Linked DNA regions of Homo sapiens: region 2 is linked to region 1. Evidence: promoter capture Hi-C in 16 types of primary human blood cells and fetal thymus (Javierre and others, 2016). All regions are on one chromosome and are shown on one strand. Each heading gives the region's core, a stretch centred on a gene start or on the middle of the fragment in contact. The rest is flanking DNA. Distances are from core to core; before and after follow the strand shown.

Region 1 (3,926 bases), core at 988-3,487:
AGCTACTACTTGGGAGGCTGAGATATCAGAATCGCTTGAACCCGGGAGGCGGAGGTTGTAGTGAATTGAGATCGCGCCACCGCACTCCAGCCTGGGCGACGGAGCAAGACTCTGTCTAAAAGTAAATAAATAAATGAGCGAGAGAGAGAAATAGGCCCAGAGAAGGAAAAGGACCACCATGAAATAATAGCTAGGATTACTGGGAAAAGATGTTTTTTTCAGTTTTTAATCCTGTGCTCCTTCTAACTATGTCTGTATCTAAGTGCTAACTTACTAGTTTTAGCGATTAACAGCAAGTCTTCAGAGAGTCATGACAGTACATCTGCCTTTAAAATAGAAACTCTAATCTTCTCCCTTGACAAAACCGTGCTGAAAGTTCTACAGAAGAAAAAATAAAGGAAAGGGTGAAAGCCCAGGTTACCTTCATACCACCACTGCCATTAACTACTTTTCAATCTTTCTCCACGACAGTATGAGTCCCAGGCAGCCATAGGTCCAAATTCCAGGTTTACGGCAAAGAGTAACAAGCATTTGGAAACACATCCAAATCCTCACGCCTATGTTCTCAGGGAAGAAAATCAAGAGCTTTCGGCCAACATTAACATTGGATTCTCACACTACAACCACAGTGTTTTGCTACTCTGATGGGGTGACTGTATTCAGAGCCAAGTACAGCGACCCAAGATCGGAAAGCCAGAGAGCCCTCCGAATGCGTACTGCCCAAATGTGGCCTGTCTCCAAGTGCTCCCTTTTTACGCATTTCCTACGCACCGCCAGCTGCCGCAACCTTTTGCAGAGTCATCATCGCCTCCTCATTTTTGTACCCACTTACCGATAGGCCACTGAGAGGCTAAGATTCTGGGTTAATTTCTAGTGGATCTGGCCACAGCATAGGAGAACTCCAACTCAGGTTGATCCCTTCACTCAGCTAAAAAGGTAGTTCTCTGCAAGGCCTGCTAGCCCAAGATGGCCAAGCAAAGACAGCTTACCTCCCCCCTCGCCATTTTGCAACCTTAATTACCCGAATGCTGAGCGCCTCCCCTCCCCGGCACTCCGTCTGAAATACGCATGCGCGCCGCTTCCTCCTTACCGTTCTCCCCAACCATCCAGATGTTGTCTCAAATATGCATGAGCGCCACCTCTACCTCCCAAACGCTGGTACCAACTCCTAGCAACTTTGCGTTGTTAAATATGCCTGCGAGTCCTTCACTTCCCGACCTTCCAACCCTCCAACCCCGACGCCATTCAAGCCTTGCGCATGCGTGCCTCCCTCTCCCCACCCCCGCCCCACTGGAGCCCGTCCCCTTAACTCAGGTCTTCTCAAATACTGTAAGCTTGAGCGCCGCCCCTCGGCGCCGCGCCTCCTCATCCAGCCTCTCAAATACCCTGCGCACCGCGATAGTCCTCTCTCTTCTTGCTCCCATTTGTATACAGTATGCATGCCTGATGCTATCTGGACGTGTTTCTCGCCACAATTCTGCCCCAGTGCCCAAGGAGAGCCATTACCAGCCTTCCCTAATGCGAGTAGATGCGATAAACTAGGGAAGTTGAATCGGGGAAAGAAGGCGTTGCAGGTGATCAGAGTGAATCCCAGATCTAGATGGAATCGGTCCCAACTCCAAGGGAGGGGGCTAGAGTACCCCAGGATTCACATAAGACCGGTCAACCTGAACAAAGGCAAGGAAAACTTTCACAAACCATCGGATGAACATAATCCTAAGGCCTCGCCCTTTAAATACATCTGCTACAAATGACGAACCACAAATGTTTTAAACAGGGAACATTATGGAAAACACCGATGCTCAGGTGCCTTGACTCTAGTTAGAGGAAAGGAACCCGCATTCCTTTCACAATGGGAAGCAAATGCTCAACATCCTTTTGGAAAACTGGGGCCTGTAACGTATTCCATTTTTTCCTCCCGTGAACTGGAAAAATGCACAAATTAAGGATCTTCCTGGCCCAAGTTCCCTCCGCCGCCCTCCATGTTCTGTTCTTCCCCTACATCGTTCCTTTACCTCCTGGTTGAATTCAGTGTCGTAGCAGGAATTCTTAGAGCTGGCCGTCCCAAGATGGGGTGGAGAGAGCGGCATGAAAGAGAGAGAGAGAGAGAGACACGCCTGAATGGCAGCAGCAGGCCTTAGCGGCAATGGACAGCAGGCACAGGACCAGCTTTGCCTCGAGCCGCAACGCTGATGCCAGAAAAGGACAACCTCTCCAGAATCGCCGCAGTGTGCTTCCAGCGCATGCGCTGCTAACGCCCCTTAACCCCCCCTCCGCGCCCCGCCTCCCCCACGCGCCGCTCTCCAGCCTCTAGGAGTCTAACCCTTAGCGGTCCACCGACCTCCTTCACTTCTTTCCCAGGACGCTATCCCACTCTGCTTCTTCCACCTTTCCCCTCCCCTCGGTCACACTGGCCTCCACCATCATCCCTCCCTCAGCCCATACTTCTTTCGTCAATCCCTCTCCCATTATTCTTAGCCCACCATCTACCTTTATTTCCTCTGCTATCGTTAGTGGTCTACCCTTCAATTCTTCACTTTCCCTGCCAGTCTGCAGCCCTCTTGGGCCTCTTACTCCTCTCCTCCTATGCCTGATGTTGAAATTTGTAAAAATTACCGCAAAAATTTTTTTTTAAATAATTGTAGCCCGGGCGCGGTGGCTCACACCTGTAATCCCAGCACTTTGGGAGGCCGAGGTGGACGGAACCCTTGAGTTCAGGAGTTCGAGACCAGCTCGGGTGACATGGCGAAACCCCGTCTCTACAAATAAATACAAAAATTAGCCGGGCGTGGTGGTGCGCACCTGTACTCCCAGCTATTCAGAAGGCTGAGGTGGAAGAATCACTCGAGCCCAGGAAGTCGAGGCTACAGTGAGCTATGATTGTGCCAGCTATGATGTTGCCAGCCTGGGCAACAGAGTGAGACCCCATCTCAAAAAAAGAAAAAAAATATTTCCACACATCCTCTCCAAAGCAGCTCTCAGGGTGAGCTCAACCAGCCTGTCTTGGGCAAAGAGAACACCTTTTTGATGATGACCCACAGGGAAGATCCAGAGACAGGGAACCAGAACAAAAACTGCAAAAGTGTTCAATCAATTTGGGGGTAAGAGGCAGTAGACCACCAACATGGAAAGCTCTTTTCTTTCTATTCACAACCCTGGTATTGTCTGGACATTAAAAATGAGATTCAATGTCCTTCACTGCTTACTACAAGGCCTGTTCTTGTCTTCTGTAAGAACTCAAATATTAATTTTGAGGGAAATGGCATTATTTACTTAAGAGGCTCTGAAATAGATCCCTCTTTGGGTGTGAACTAGAAAGAATACAAAATAATATTTTGTTTCTCTTTATTATGTTTTACTTTGGTGTCTGGTTCTTATTGCTTTCTAAAAGAGCCAGTTTGGAAATACCAAAAACTGAGACCCGCAAATTCATAAATCCTAAAACTCATAAACTTATACATCACCATCCTCTCAAATTAACTTAAGAATGTTATATCAACATTATTCAGAGAAAAATGGGTTTGCATTTGTTATATAATACGCCCAAAAAATTATACAACAATGTGCATATGAAGAAGAAAAAAGAGAAATAGGCATGCATTAAATAAAAAAGAAATGCCGAAATCTCAGTGGTACAAAGAACCTCTTCTAAATTAAAATAATCATTTATTATTACACAAAAGTTAAAATATAAGAAATTTTACCCCAAATTCTACAACACTATTTTAACAAATGCTCTTATCTCTGTTATTTTTCTGTTTTAATGGTTTTATTAATATATAATTTACATATCATACAGTTAACCAACTTAAAGTGTACAATGCAATGGATTTTAGTATATTCACAGAATTATGCAGCCACCACTACAATCAATTTTAGAATATTTTCATCACCCCAAAAAGAAACTTCATACCCATTAGTATTGT
Region 2 (3,926 bases), core at 1,021-3,520, 160 kb after region 1:
TGACAGAATGACGGAGTTACTTGTTTGCAACAGAGAATGCATTCCTCCCCACCCTGTCCTGCCCCAACATGTAATTGAATATCTTTCCTTTTGCCACCCCTCAATAGGCTTTTGCCCTTCTCTTCCTAAATAAGGTTATTAAGTTATTGACTTATTCAAATAAAAGTTTGTCCAATATTCAAGAGACATTAAGTATGTTCTTTGGGTCTGAACACATGGTCAATTTCAATCTTTGTGAGTTTTCACAGAGGCCCACTAACTCCCTGTGTGAAAAAAGTACCCAGACGTAAGTCATATGAAGGGAGTTGCATGATAAAAAGCTTTCTGGGGGCCTGGTGTAGTGGTTCATACCCGTAATCCCAACACTTTGGGAGGCTGAGGTGGGAGGATCACTTGAGGCCAGGAGTTCAAGACCAGCCTGGACAATATAGCGAGACCCTGTCTCTACAAAAAAATTTAAAAAGTAGCCAGGCATGGTGGCTCGCACACTGTAGTCCTAGCTACTCAGGAGGCTGGGGTGAGAGGATCACTTGAGCCCAGGAATTCAAGGTTGTAGTGAGCTATGAACTCACCACTGCACTCCAGCCTGGGCAACAGAGTGAGAACCTGTTTCTATGTATTTAAAAAAAAAAAAAGGCCGAGCACAGTGGCTCATGCCTGCAATCCCAGCACTCTGGAAAGCTGAGGCGGGTGGATTTCTTGAGGCCAGAAGTTCAAGAACACCCTAGTCAACAGTCAACATGACAAAACCCCGTCTCTACTAAAAATGCAAAAATTAGCCAGACATGATGGTGCATGCCTGTAATTCCAGCTACTTAGAAGGCTGAGGTGGGAGAATCACTTGAACCTGGGAGGCGGAGGTTGCAGTGAGCTGAGATCCCTCCACTGCACTCCAGCCTGGGCGACAGAGTGAGACTCTGTCTCAAACAAGCAAACAAAAACACAAAAAAACCTTTTGGACAGTGACAGTGACATTGTTATGATAAAGTACTTGGTCCAAACCTGCCATACAGGGCTAGAAAGTTCTCAGCAGTCATCCATCCCAACGGTTCCCAACCCTAGCTGACTATCAAAATCATGTAAGGAGTATGTTGAACATATACCTTCCCTGGGGCTCATGAAACCTACTGAATCAGAATTTCTGAGGTAAGGCCCCAAAGTCTGTATTTTAAACAATCTTATCAGGTGATTCTCATAATAGGACAGGTTTGGGAACTATTTGTCTGGTTGAATCCTTTGGATTTTTTTTTTTTTTTTTTTTTTTTTGGATGAGGAAACCAGGCTCAGAGGGGCAGGAGCCTACAGCAAAGTGGCCAGATGGGAAAGTAAGGGCAGAGCATGTCTGCCTTGCTTCTCATCATCTCCTCTTTGCATAGAACACCTAATATTATGTTCTCTCACCCTTTCTGATCAATTACTTGTCCTTCCATGTCTCTAGAACTGTGAGTACTTTGATGGTAGGACCATGTCAGATCCATCTCTGAGGTCTCCAAGTCCTTGAGCTTGATCCTTAAAGCTAGGCTCCCAACTTACTAGGCAGGTATACATTCTTAGACCCTATGCCTCTGTTTCCAGGGACCATGGGTTGGGGCAGGAGTTGGTGTCCCCCTTCCTTCAAAAAGCAAGGCAGGCTGCAAAGTTTGAAGTATGTGAAATATGGAGGCCAGTTCTTGTGCCGAGGGAGCTGGAATGTCCAGTGGCACCAGGTTACCTGAAGCTTGGGCTGGGGCTGAGTGTTGATCTCAGGGGAATTTGGGCGTCATTCCCATTACTATCACTGACAGCAGCCTTACGTGCAGCGATAATGACATGCTTTGAAAAATGCCTCAAATGTCAGTTACCCAGCATTGAGACAGCCCCTGAGAGTTGTTCCTTCATGCCCGCATCTTTAGCTGTGCTTATCACTCTCATAGCACTGTGTTTCACCCTGCCCAATTGTGCAGGGCTGTCTGGGGCCTTGGTCTTCTGTTCTTGGAGCCAGGATAGGAAGTAGAATAAAAAGATGGCTGTGGAAGGCAAGGCAGGACTAACCATTCAGTAGTTTGCATTTTTGTGCGTTAAGATGAGCTCGTGCCAAACTGGGGAGGGAAGTATGAATGAAGCACAGACTGTCATTAGACCTGGGTTCTAACCTTACCACTGTCATGTTCATTTGCTGTGTGACTGTGGACTAGGCCCTTACTCCTCTAAGCCTCCATTTCTGCACCTGTGCAATGAGTAGCTTGGACTCACAACCTTTCTGTTCTAATTGAGTGATGCTAATTTAAGAGCCAAGCTGGAGGGTCAGGGGTGGGTATCTAATGAGTGATGCTCATTCCCTGCCTTCATTCATCGCATATCTTGAGTCCACTCTTGGAAAACATATGTTGTTAGCCCCAAAGGCTCAAGATATAACCTCCAAAGTAACTTGCATAATATATTTGCACCCTGCTGTGTTGGCTTTGTGCTGATAACATCTCAACACAGCCTGGATCCACTGTACTCTGGTTATGTCAACTTCTCAAAGGCAGTCAGATGCAATTGAAGACTGCTTTTCCCACTGGATGTGGGTGCCTGACAATGTAACTAACTCTGTTTTTCAGGGTCTCCTCCCTGGTCCTCTCTTGTTCAGCTCTGCAGCATCTGTGCGACTTCTCAGTGCATTGACTCCTTTAGCCACACACCCCTCTAAGTAGGTTACCTGCTGGCACTGGCTCAGTGCCAACAGGCTGTGGTTTCTCTAACTGTAAAGGCCTTGATTCATCCTGGTTGTGAGGAACTCTTTTAAGTTTGGCAGCTGTTTTACTCTGGGAATTTCTCCTCTGCCTAACCCTTCTCCCATCAACAAGCTTCCTTCACTTCTTCCCTCCCACCTCCCTCAAAATCCCCTATGGATAATGGGATGATCTTTGTCTTGCAACAGGGCACTATAGACGACCAGGATGGTCCATCCTTCCTCCACCACTAGTGACAGCAACAAGGCTAGCTTGGGGAATTTTAGCATCGCTCAAAGCCATGACTAATAAATAGATAATTTAAGCAAAACTCATGCACTTGCTATGCTAGCAAGCATCAAGGCAAGTCCTTTAGTCACCTCCTTCCAACCAAATTGCTTTCCCTAAGCCCTTTCTATTGAGAAATTATGGACCCTCCACCCCCATTATATGCCCCAGGGCCTAGCACAAGGGCTGGCTGGCACATAATAGATGCTCAATAAATATTTGTTGAATGAATAATGGCCGAACAGATGAAGACTAAACATACCTAAAAGCTAAAGGAAATAATGCTAGCTGAGTCAGGAGACCTGGATCAGCCACTAATCCATCTTGTGACCTTGAGCATGTTCCTCTCTTTGGGTCTAAGTCTCTTCCTCTGTAGAATTTTGCACTGAACTCAGTGATCTTTTAGGGGTCTTCCATTTCTGGGAGTTCATAATTCTGTGATCCGTACTCTTGTACCAAATACCACTTGCCGCCACCACCCCTGCTCTGCCCCGCCCCACCCAAAGAAGTAAAAGAAACTTCCATCTAGTCATCAGATAGTATTGGGATCATGCTGATAGGGAAAAGAATATAACTTGGGGTTTTGGACCAAGCCAATATCAGAGAAGCCACTGCTTCCCATTATGCCAATGGGGATTGCTGATTAGGTCTCACTCCTATGACACAAAGGCACAACATTCAAGGTCCTCCGCTCCTTGCCTCCTCTGCCTTGTCTTTGATGTCCCATGAGAAGTATGTTGACCAGACAATATCCCCTTGGCTCTGGTAGTGGTTGGAGTCAGTAAGCTGTTGGAGATCTGGGAGTCCTGGTCATTGCAGAACAAAATTCTTGTCCACTGTTATAAGCACATAGGTCTTGATTTTAAAAGTCTTATGCAGCCATAAAAATATACACAGACCAACCTGCCTGGGATTAAAGGGAACTAGGCAGAAAACCAGAAAAGG

What was found. The method cuts DNA at HindIII sites, captures the fragments that hold promoters and counts their contacts. A CHiCAGO score of 5 or more calls a contact.
Region 2: a contact is called between a fragment that was not itself captured here and the fragment with the promoter of FTX in region 1, in 1 of 17 cell types (monocytes). The highest score is 5.1, in monocytes.

What each region holds. Positions count from the first base shown.
Region 1 is chrX:74,291,337-74,295,262 of GRCh38, forward strand. It overlaps FTX (FTX transcript, XIST regulator), which reads right to left and starts at 2,238. Exons shown (of 7, transcript NR_028379.1): 1 at 2,016-2,238. It overlaps LOC124905199 (a long non-coding RNA gene), which reads right to left and starts at 1,260. Exons shown (of 2, transcript XR_007068266.1): 1 at 422-1,260. RefSeq lists an enhancer at 702-1,492. The HindIII fragment of the contact is 8,135 bases long and covers 1,333-3,926 here.
Region 2 is chrX:74,447,062-74,450,987 of GRCh38, forward strand. All of the region lies in intron 1 of SLC16A2 (solute carrier family 16 member 2), which reads left to right. Among named protein-coding and RNA genes, the nearest start is that of SLC16A2, 28 kb to the left of the region's middle. The HindIII fragment of the contact is 1,111 bases long and covers 1,716-2,826 here.